Regions from separate parts of the Homo sapiens genome. Here region 1 is linked to region 2. The links are contacts of gene promoters, found by promoter capture Hi-C in blood cells and fetal thymus (Javierre and others, 2016). All regions are on one chromosome and are shown on one strand. Each heading gives the region's core, a stretch centred on a gene start or on the middle of the fragment in contact. The rest is flanking DNA. Distances are from core to core; before and after follow the strand shown.

Evidence for each region. The method cuts DNA at HindIII sites, captures the fragments that hold promoters and counts their contacts. A CHiCAGO score of 5 or more calls a contact.
Region 1: a contact is called between a fragment that was not itself captured here and the fragment with the promoter of PLEK in region 2, in 1 of 17 cell types (monocytes). The highest score is 6.2, in monocytes.

Annotation. Positions count from the first base shown.
Region 1 is chr2:68,119,420-68,124,576 of GRCh38, forward strand. It overlaps the pseudogene PPIAP64. Among named protein-coding and RNA genes, the nearest start is that of DNAAF10, 36 kb to the right of the region's middle. RefSeq lists enhancers at 1,520-1,679, 1,910-2,079, 2,090-2,169, 3,018-3,312. The HindIII fragment of the contact is 3,787 bases long and covers 1,432-5,157 here.
Region 2 is chr2:68,363,815-68,369,556 of GRCh38, forward strand. It overlaps PLEK (pleckstrin), which reads left to right and starts at 1,468. Exons shown (of 9, transcript NM_002664.3): 1 at 1,468-1,579. The coding sequence starts at 1,538. It overlaps LOC101927723 (a long non-coding RNA gene), which reads right to left and starts at 2,590. Exons shown (of 2, transcript NR_187652.1): 1 at 1,601-2,590. RefSeq lists an enhancer at 1,428-1,507. The HindIII fragment of the contact is 25,233 bases long and covers 1-5,742 here.

The sequences.
Region 1 (5,157 bases), core at 2,075-4,574, 240 kb before region 2:
CGAAGACATTCATTCATGAATACAAGGGAAAGCCCTAACCTCTTATTGGCTTAAACAAGAAACAAGTATTTTTGTCTATTGTCAAAGTCATCAAGGTAAACAGCCTAGGGCAGGTATGGTGGCTCCCAGATCACCAGGGCCAGACTCCTTATGCTTTTGTTTTTACCCCCTCTGGACGACAGGCCCATCCTCATGCTCCACAGTGTCCACACCTTGCTGATAGGGAGACTGGGAGATACAGTCTTTATTATGTGCTGTGATTAAAATGGGCTCCTGTTGTTGAGGCGGGAGGGGAGAGTGGGCATGGGGAGGCAACCTGCTGCTCTGCTGCCGTGGAGACGGTAACAGGCTGTGGCGAGAGTGTGTGGAAATCCCTTCCCCCTCCTCCCCTTTCAGGCTCCTGTGCTCTTTCCCTGTTCTCCCCAGCACCCTTCCCAATGCCAACATTCACTGTGACAACAGTTTGTAATAGGACTTTCATCCTTAAGTCCAAGTAGCAAAATGGATGAAAAAAGTGCTCTGACGACCTCCACTTATATACAAAAATGGTGAGGTTAAGAGTTTATTATCACGCCTGTAATCCCAGCACTTTGGGAGGCCAAGGCATGTGGATCACCTGAGGTTAGGAGTTCAAGACCAGCCTGGCCAACATGGTGAAACCCCATGTCTACTAAAAGTACAAAAATTAGCCAGACATGGTGGCTCACGCCTGTAATCCCAGCTACTCGGGAGGCTGAGGCAGGAGAATCGCTTGAACCTGGGTGGTGGAGGTTGCAGTGAGCCGAGATCATGCCAGTGCACTCCAGCCTGGGCAACAGAGTGACTCCATCTCAAAACAACAACAACAACAAACTATAGTATTTACCCCAGAGTTTTGTGGTGGGGATTTAAAAATACAACATGAGAGAAACAATATAGTAAGCACTCCACAAATATTAGCAGCTATTATTATTATTGTCAACATTATCATCTTTATAAATGTGATCCTGATCAAGACTCTAGAGACAGGCCACTGGTTTCCCTCCAAGTTTACTCCTCATTCACTGTCTTTCTTTCTTTCTTTTTTTTTTTTTTTGGAGATGGAGTCTCACTCTGTCACCCAGGCTGGAGTGCAGTGGCGTGATCTCAGCTCACTGCAACCTCTGCCTCCCAGGTTCAAGCGATTCTCCTGCCTCAGCCTCCTAAGTAGCTGGGACTACAGGTGCATGCCACCACATGCAGCTAATTTTTTGTATTTTAATAGAGATGGGGTTTCACCATGTTGGCCAGGCTGGTCTCAAACTTCTGGCCTCAATTGATCCACCTGCCTTGGCCTCCCAAAGTGATGGGATTACAGGTGTGAGCCACCTCGCCTGGCATATACTGCTTTCTTTAGCTTCCATAGCCTCAACCGAGAGCAAGAGAATAAGGCTTCTGACATTCTTCCTAGGAAGCTTTACGGAACAGATTGGAAAATTCACAACAAGCCCTAAGTGGCCCATAGTGGATTAGTGGGGACTGTGGCCGTCAGGACTCCCCCTTAGCTGAGGCTTCTGTGTCTTCTGTGTCTGCTTTCTTAGGGCCCTTTAGCCTGTGAGCTCTTAGGAATGCAGGAAGACCCTCTCTTTCCCCCTGGGTGGTAACAAAATTTCCCCTGGTCCATCATTCCTGAGCCCTAGTTCAGTCTGTGTGCGGCCAGGTCAGCGCTCAATAGGGTTCCAAACCTGTTGGCTGCAAGCACAGACTCCCTCTGAGTGTGAATGTTATCTCTCACCAGATGAGGGATGTGCTCAGCCCAGATCAAACACTTGTTTATCTACAGGGTGGTGAGAGCCAAAACTCTGCTTCTGTTTCTCCCTGGTGGTTTATTTGCTTACCCTTATCACCTCTGAGCAGTGGTGTTGTTTGCATAGAGTTCTCGGTTTCTGGCATGTTAAATTTAGAGGTACCCCAGGCTTCTCGGAGGGATCAGAGTGTTGAGCAACTCCTCAGGGAGGTGCAGGAGAATATCACTGGATGAGGGGTCAGGAGATGAGGGCCTGGGTCTGTCTTCAAATGCAGAAATTGAGTGCAGAGGTCTCAAAGGCCTCTTCTGGCACTGACGTTCTGACTGGCCATGAAAGCCTTGGGTGTCATAAAGAAGAAAAGTTGAAGACTTAAAAGGAGGAAGTGTGAGTGTCTTCAGCCTCCGGTGTGAGGGAGAACTGTGAGTCTCTTTTGACCACAGTTTATTTTGTGTTGCTTCTTTTAGCTGCATGGTCCATACGCCAAAGGTGGGCAGGTGGAGGGCTGCTACTCACTAACTTGGTAGTGCAGAAATGGCTTTTAAAAACAGTGGCTATATGGCTGCGCACGGTGGTTCATGCCTGTAATCCCAGCACTTTGGGAGGCCGAGGCAGGCGGATCACTCGAGGTCAGGAGTTCGAGACCAGCCTGATCAACATGGAGAAACCCCGTCTCTACTAAAAATACAAAAATTAGCCGGGCGTGGTGGTGGGCGCCTGTAATCTCAGCTACTTGGGAGGCTGAGTCAGGAGAATCGCTTGAACCCAGGAGGCGGAGGTTGCAGTGAGCTGAGATCGTGCCATTGCACTCCAGCCTGGGCAACAAGAGCAAAACTCTGTCTCAAACAAAACAAAACAAAACAAAACATTGGATCTGGTGCAAAGAAGATGGAGAGAAATTCTAGAATTCCTGCAGGAAGTTAAGTGATGGTATAAAGAAGTCCTTACTCTGAGAAATGCTTCGTTAAAATCAGAATTTACAGAATAAACGGTTGGTAGGAGATAGAGGCATGTACTATTTACTTTACAAAATAATTCCTCACTTTATAAAAAGCCAAATATTTTCTCTTGGAAGTTAGCCTTGTGATGCTACCAGTAAGACTGAATCTATAATAAAGCTAATGATCCAACTTTTGGTTAAAAAACCCATTCTGTAAAAAGAAGCATAGGCATGCTATGCAGTGTTGTTATATACAAAGTGGGTTTTCTTCATAAACACAATCACATTTTTGGAAGACATTTCTGTAAGATAATGTCTTTCTCAAGGTCCAGTTTGGCTTGCGTGCCTCCTGGGAATTAAACAGGATAGATTTTTCCAGCTGCATTTGAAAGACAAATTCCGTTTCCTTGTGTTGAAAGGTCTGCAATGCCCACATCTCCCACAAGGGGGCAGCGCACCACTGGGTCTTCAGGTACAAGGACGGCCTGGGATTCGGAACGTGCGGCTGAGGGGCCTCCTTCCCAGGGGAAGAAAATCCACTGAAAGTCGTGAAGAGGCGGACCTTATGTACCACGACATAATTGAATTTCATATCTCACGAACCCTGCGTATTTGCCAGAAACTTTCGGGCTGTTCTCATTCAGAAAAGGATGAAATCATTTTGTGTGTTGGATAGTCCTTAGACATTCCCAGAAAAAAAATTATTTTTCATGTATATATGCAAAGTGTATCCAGCTAAATCACAAGCAAAAGTGACTTTAAGCAGGTACCAAGACACGCCGGATCATAAAGACACTGTTCTCCCTTCAAGTTCCTTTGGTGAGTTTATGGACACGCATGAGGTAAGCTGCGCCGTTCATGTTCTACTGCGCGTGACTTTGTACTGCCCCTGAGTGGAAAAGGTATTTGGGATTCGAAAGAAGTTATTATTAAGTACAAACAAATTCCCAAGAAAAGAAATGTAGTATGAAGATCAATTTGAGTGTGTAGGGGGAGTTTTCCTTTCCTGTTTTTGTACTGGGCTGGGCTTGCATTGGTGCACATAAAGGATAATAAAAGTAACTTAAAAAACCAAGGGATTCCATGGTGTCTGGTTTACAAGAGCTGATGGAGAAGATACAATTGCCAAAAGGGAGTATTGGGTGCCAAGACCCAGATCTGGCCTAAGGAAGCACGCATTGGTAGCGCCCTAGTTTTCACCTCATGGGAGGACGCAGCCAGGGAGGCCGTGCTTGACGGCTCTGTCAGGGCGGCAGAATCCAGTTACACCTCCCAACATCCATTTCCCTACTTCCTCAGGACCAGAACTCCCAAATGGTAGCCGGGTATAACACTGCACACAATCAGGTTTATGCTTCTCGGTCTCACTGTGATAGGTGAGACCGAGACACAGGACCAAATCATCACCAATGGATACAAGCAAAAGTGCTCTTCAAAGTGCAAGATGTTCTTTTTCTTACTTTTCCTACTTTTCTGATGTCTGGAATGTGGATGTGATGGTTCAACTGGAACAGGCACACTGGATAATGCGTAATCTTTATTTTGGGTTTTCAGTTACCCGCAGCTGAACCTAACCCTAATCAACAACAATGCCTTCAAAAAACAGGCCAGAGGTTAAGATGGACTTTTTTTTCCTAATTACTTGTTTTATCATTATTTTATCATTTTAATCACCCACCAACATTTGCTTTTATTTATTTATTTATTTTTGAGACAGGGTCTCTCATTTTCCCCAGGCTGGAGTGCAGTAACACAGTCACCACTCACTGCAGCTTCAACCTCCTTGGCTCAAGTGATCCTCCTGCCTCAGCCTCCCAAGCAGCTGGGACTATAAGCTGTGCTACCACACCCAGCTAATTTAAAAAAAAAATTTTCTGTAGAGACAGTGTCTCACTATGTTGCCCAGGCTGGTCTTGAACTCCTGGCCTCCCAAAGTGCTAGGATTACAAGCGTAAGCCACTGCGCCTGGCCCAACATTTATTAAATGTTGTATTAAGGGGCCAGGGGCAGTGGCTCATGCCTATAATCCCAGCACTTTGGGAGGCCGAGGCAGGCAGATCACTTGAGGTGAGGAGTTTGAGACCAGCCTGGCCAACATGGCGAAACCCCATCCCTACTAAAAATAAAAAAAATTAACTGCGCGTGGTGGCACATGCCTGTAATCCCAGCTACTTGGGAGGCTGAGGTGGGAGAAGTGCTTGAACCCAGGAGGCGGAGGTTACAGTGAGCCAAGATCACGCCACTGCACTCTTCCTGGGTGACAGAGCAAGACTCAGTCTCAATTAAAATAAAAAAGTGTTGTATAAAGGGTATTGCTGAGTGATCTGGTTTTAAGTTGGCTTAGGGATAGAGTTGGATCAGAACACCATAAGCAAAGTTCAGTTGTTAAAGAATCCTTCATAAAATTCCTCCACCATGACTGTATAAATGCAGCTGTACTTGGTCACAGCCCTT
Region 2 (5,742 bases), core at 218-2,717:
AGAATTGTTGCGTGCCTCTTCCAGCTTCTGGGGGTTGCTGGCCATCCTTGGCGTTCCTTGGCTTGTAAATGCATCACTCTGTTGTCACATGGCTGTTTTCTGTGTGCCCTTTTCTTATAAGGACACCAGTCACATTGGATTAAGGGCCCACTTGTTTCAGTATGACCTCATCTTAACTAATTATATCTACAATGACCCTATTTCCAAATAAGGATGCATTCTGAAGTGCTAAGGGTTAGGACTTCTTTTTTGGGAGATCTAATTCAATTTATGACAAAAAAAGTTAACATAAATTGTTCAAAAAAGAATGCTATGGCGAAGTAAGTTTGGAAAACACCATTATAGGATTCTTTACTGTAGTACTTTGGCGGGGCGAAGGTCTTTAATTTGTTCATCATTTAGAGGAGTTGCCAACCTGGGATTATTTTGTAAAGTTTCTCAAAAACCTGTTTGATGATGGACTTCTTTTTACAGGCTGACTGTGAGATCAGCACTCAACGTGGAACACCTGTTCTCATGCCTGATGTGAGGCAGTGGCACCCTAGCACATCCCTCCCTGGTTCTTCTGCTTTCCCCTGTGACCTGCAGCGTCAACTTGAGACAACTTTTCTTCTCTGAGCCTGAGTTTCCTTACTCTAAGATAAGGAAAATAATATACTTTCCCTATGGGTTTGATGTGTGGACTCATTTTTGTTGTTGTTTGTTTTGAGATGAAGTCTTTCTCTGTCGCCCAGGCTGGAGTGCAGTGGACCAATCTCGGCTCACTGCAACCTCCGCCTCCCAGGTTCAAGTGATTCTGCTGCCTCAGCCTCCCGAGTAGCTGGGACTACAGGCACACGCCACCATGCCCGGCTAATTTTTGTATTTTTAGTAGAGACAAGGTTTCACCATGTTGGCCAGGCTGGTCTTGAACTCCTGACCCCAGGTGATCCATCTGCCTTGGCCTCCCAAAGTGCTGGGAGTACAGGCGTGAGCTACCATGCCTGGCCGATGTGCAGACTAATTTAGTTTAAAATAAGTAGGCTGAGAAACACTTGATACAGGGCTTGGCATAGAGAGAAGTAGGCATTCATTTAGTAGTTAACTTTGTTATGCTAACCAGATGGTTCTGAATTTCTTGGCATTTTTATTGGGCATTTCCAGGATCTCAAGAATAATCCTTACTCAGGACAATTTTCACCAACAAGTTTTTCTTGTTCATCTTCCTCTTCCTTTCATCACTTCTTTTTCTCTTTAAAAGAGGGATTTTCTGTATGGTAGTAAGAATTTCCCTTAGGTAAATATTCAACCCAACTGTGGTTTTAATAAGTCTCCAGCATTAGCAAGGAATGGGTGGTTTACTCTGCAGTTCCTTATTCTGATCTTCCAACCCAGTGAGGGGAAGAGGATGTGATCATGCGACCGCCAGCAGAAGGGAAATTGTGAAAGCGACCTGCTGTAGAAAAGGCGGCCCACAGCCACCTCAGCATGCAGAGGAGGCCCAGCTGCTGAGAGGAGTTGCCTGAGAGTGACCTTTGCATCTGCCTGTCCAGCCAGCATGGAACCAAAGCGGATCAGAGAGGGCTACCTTGTGAAGAAGGTGAGCGAAGGTGCCACTTACCAGGGTGTCAGTGGACATGGGCTGGGGAGACTTGGGTTCAGCTCCACCGGCTACCTGCTCATCTTAGGAATGTTTCCTGTTCAACCAGTTGGGTTGAAATAGGGGAGCGTGGTAGCACATAGAATGTTGGAGTGGGGTTAGGGGAGTGGGGATACTCATCCAGCCCCGGCTTCCTTACAGTTTGATATTACGGGTCTGAGAATTCCAGATGGCAGGGCCTGGAAGGTGGGGATCTAAGCTAACTCCCTCCAGATTTAGAATATCCTTTTTAAGAGGCACACAGATGTGTTCTGTCAGAAGATATACTCCTCTTCTATGGAGGTTTCTTGGAGGGACTATTCATTTTTTATTTAAATTCCACTTCCCCTCAGTTCTTTTTTTGGGAGGCAAGGGGAAAAAAGTGATTAAAGAGTTGATATAATGATAGAGTAATTACGGCTTATTTCTTGGGCCATCTTCTTGGAATTGACACGTTTAAAAAAAACCTTATCTTTTTTTAATTGGGCTGAAATCTCTTCACTCACAATTCTTAGTAAATTTGCATAATGTGGCATCGAGGTGGTAGATGCACCATTTTAAAGATTAGGGTACTGAAAAAGGCTTAGCCTCCCTGGTGTGCATCATGAAAATTGAATTTTCTTAGTGCTGTTTGTCTTTCTTCGGATGCTGAGTGTGTGCTGTGTGGTTGTGAAAGCTCCCCGGGATGTGAATTCACACATAGGACTTGGTGTCCTGTGGGCAACACCTATATACACAGATATGCTCACACTAACCTTAGTGAGTGGATTGTTTCAGAAATGAGCTGAACGTAGTGCCTTCCTTCAGGTGCTTAGCTTTTTAGTTGAATGAACAGTGAATGTGAGTCTGTTTTAGGCTACTCATTTGTTTCACGTTTTAACCTACAATGTTCTACCTGTAAGGGGGGTTAAATAGCACACATTGCTGCCTGCTTCCATTTTGACTTCAGGCTGGAGGGACCCTAGGTCATCTGGCCTAATTCCTTCATTTGCAGAAGAGGAGACAGACCCAGAAGGCTCGGTGATTGCCCCAAGTCACATGGCTATGACAGTTGTGACCAGCCACTCCTTCTCTGATGCTTAGGTTTCTGATTCATGGCACTGAACTTTGTTCATTACTCCAGCATTTTCTTAAAGCAGATTTATTCCAAGTTAGGATTTGTAGTGTATTTGTGATGGTGAGAGCTATGAGTTGGTACTGGAGAATAAGTGGGCCCTCAGCTGCTAATCTCTGTAGCCAGCTGTGCTTCGAAACATCCTTTGGAAAAGACACACTTATACATAGAAGTGTAAAAGATTACTTGCAATAGGCACCAATAATAATTGGCGAGACCTGGTAATAATTAATATTGACTTATTCCTTTCCTGATCACTTGTGCTAGTATCCTGAGAAGAGCAAGTGAATAGGAACATTTCTGCAAGTTTTTGTTTGTTTTTTTAAACAATTAAAAACATCTTGCAATGAAAATTGCTGTTATAAAGTTTGTATGCTCATATTTTAATCTCCCTAAATTACAAAAATATGAAGACTAAATTTCTAATAAGTGAAGCTGTCTCACTAAAAATTGGGGATGATAGAGTCAGGGTTGTCAAGCATGTGGATTTAAATTAATAAATAGTTTTTAATTAGTGAGAGTAGTTCTCTCAGATTGTAAAAGCCAATCTAGAAAATGTGCCTGGAATTAAATAGTGAAATTTTGTATTGATAGTTTTACAATTTATATCTTCCATAATTTTCATGTTTACAAGTTACATCTTCCATAATTACTGCATTTTTCTCTGGGACCTTTTGAACACTCTGATATAATGCATTAAGATTCTCTTTTTTTTTTTTATTCTTCTAAAACTTTAATTTTAGGTTCAGGAGTATAGGTACAGGCTTGTTATATAGGTAAACTCCTGTGACAGGCGTTTGTTGTACAGATCATTTTGTTACCTAAGTACTATGCCTAGTATCCAATAGTTATTTTTTCTGATCCTCTCCCTTCTCCAACCCTCCACTCTCACATAGCTTCCAGCGTCTCATTTGATATTTTAAAGAAATGTTTGGTCCAGAAATATTCCCTTTTTCAGCTGCAGAACTAAACCTAAAGACAGAGTTTCCTGAGAAGGTATTAAAGTTCTTAACTACTTTAGACATTAAGTTTCCTTCAGTTACCTCACGTGTGGGTTAAAAACTGTATATGTCAAGAATCTGACATATAATTGGTGTACATAAGCTGCATAAGACACTGATTATTTGTATCAGCATCAATATATGCTTCAGTAGATAGTGGGGCCTCCCCTAGATGTTAATGGGGCTATGTACTGGTTCCTGGGTTGGTTGCCAAATTAATTATGAAGGAAGGGCCATAAAAATCTTTGAAAAGGCTCTTAGAAGCCTTGGCTATGGTTTTTGATATTAAAGCATGAAAAATAATATAGTGAATCTTCCTCCATTCACCTTTTTCTCTTATGCAGTTCAAGATACCTGGGTAGTAACAGAGAACATCTTTGTCCTGTGTCTTGTTTTATGAAATAATTTTATTGCAGATAAGTTGTTTTGGGTGGAAAAAATATAGCATTAGAAAATGCTGGTGCAGGAATTTTGTCAGGTCAGAAATCTTGGGGTCAATAGTGTTAACTGTAAAACGTTTCTGCTTTTCTTCTGTGCAAGATGACTGTTGACATTTCACAATCCAGGTTTCCTCTTTTGCCTCCTGAATAAGATCTCCAAATGAAGACAGTGGTTAAGAGGGGGAGGGAAAATACAAGATTCTGTCATTTTCCAGCTTTTTCATTCCAAGTAACACCCATGTCTCTTTGCCTCAGAGTCTTTCACCTTACTTTTTTGTTTTAAAAAAGAGCACTTCTAGCCAACCATGGAGCAGCAAGCTGCTATACGAACATGACTTCATTTAATCCTAACCACCCTATGTGATCCTCATCTTACAGATAAGAAAACTGAGGTTCACAGAGAATAAGTGATTCGTCCACAGTGAAACATGTGGCAAGAGGATGACCTGGGATTCAAATCCCGGCCTGCCTAACAGCAAAGCCTACCATCTCATTGATCCCAGGCAGCATTCTGAAAGGCAGGCTTGCCCTGGCCTGCAAAAGAACTCACTAGAGCCAGAGCAAGGCACGAACAAATTGTTTTGTGGGCAAGATTAAGTTTAAAAACCTCAGCCTCCTTTCCTCTCTGTTTAGGGGGTTTCTTTCTGGCCAATAAACATGTTTGGAAGGTACTCGAATACCTACTACTGAATTAGATATGTTCATCATCATAACTGGAAAAAATGAGAGAAGAGCAAATTATATGCTCTGCATAACCTAGACTCCTCCAAGTCATGTCTCAAACCAGCCTAATTCCTAGAGGTTTATGGAGCAAGCTGTTGTTTCCAGGACAACCAACCTCACAAGCACTTGGCGCAGCAGCGCTGACTCAGAAAGTGGCTGAGGGATTTGGATGTCCTTTGAGGCTGGGAGAAAGCATAGGAATCAGGGTGATGGGAAAGGGAAGGGCAAGCAGCAGGGACAGGAAAGGAAAGGGCTGCAGAAAGCTGTGGTAGAAGTGGAAGAGAGCCCGAGAGTCAGGGTCCTGGCCCAGGAGTTCTTTCCTGGATCTACCTTGTCTTCTAGGCAGCATGAAATAATCTGAAGCGATTTGTGCCTACTGATTCATCATCACTGTAACAGCTAACGCATGTGGTGTTTACCCTGAAGCAGGAACAGTTCCAAGCATTTCATGCCTTAATGCATTTATACAGCATACTTAAGACAACTCAACAAAATGGGGACAATTATTATCCTTACTTAACAGATAAGGAGATTGAAGTACAGAGAGGCAAATGGCCTTGTCCAAAGTCACACAGTTAATAAGTGGCAGAGCTGGTTTGCAACCCAGCAGTGTGGCCCCAGTATCACGCAGAGCCTAACCACTTTCTATGTGGCCCTCGTGGGCTCGTACTGCAGTGACATTCTTTTCCAAAGCACTGTCACCATGATGAGGGGTACCCAGGGGAACATTATGCCAGAGCGACTCCACAGTGTTGCCTACAAAACCGTACTCTTTTTTTTTTTTTTTTTTGAGATGGAGTTTTGCTCTTGTTGCCCAGGCTGGAGTGCAATGGTACGATCTCGGCT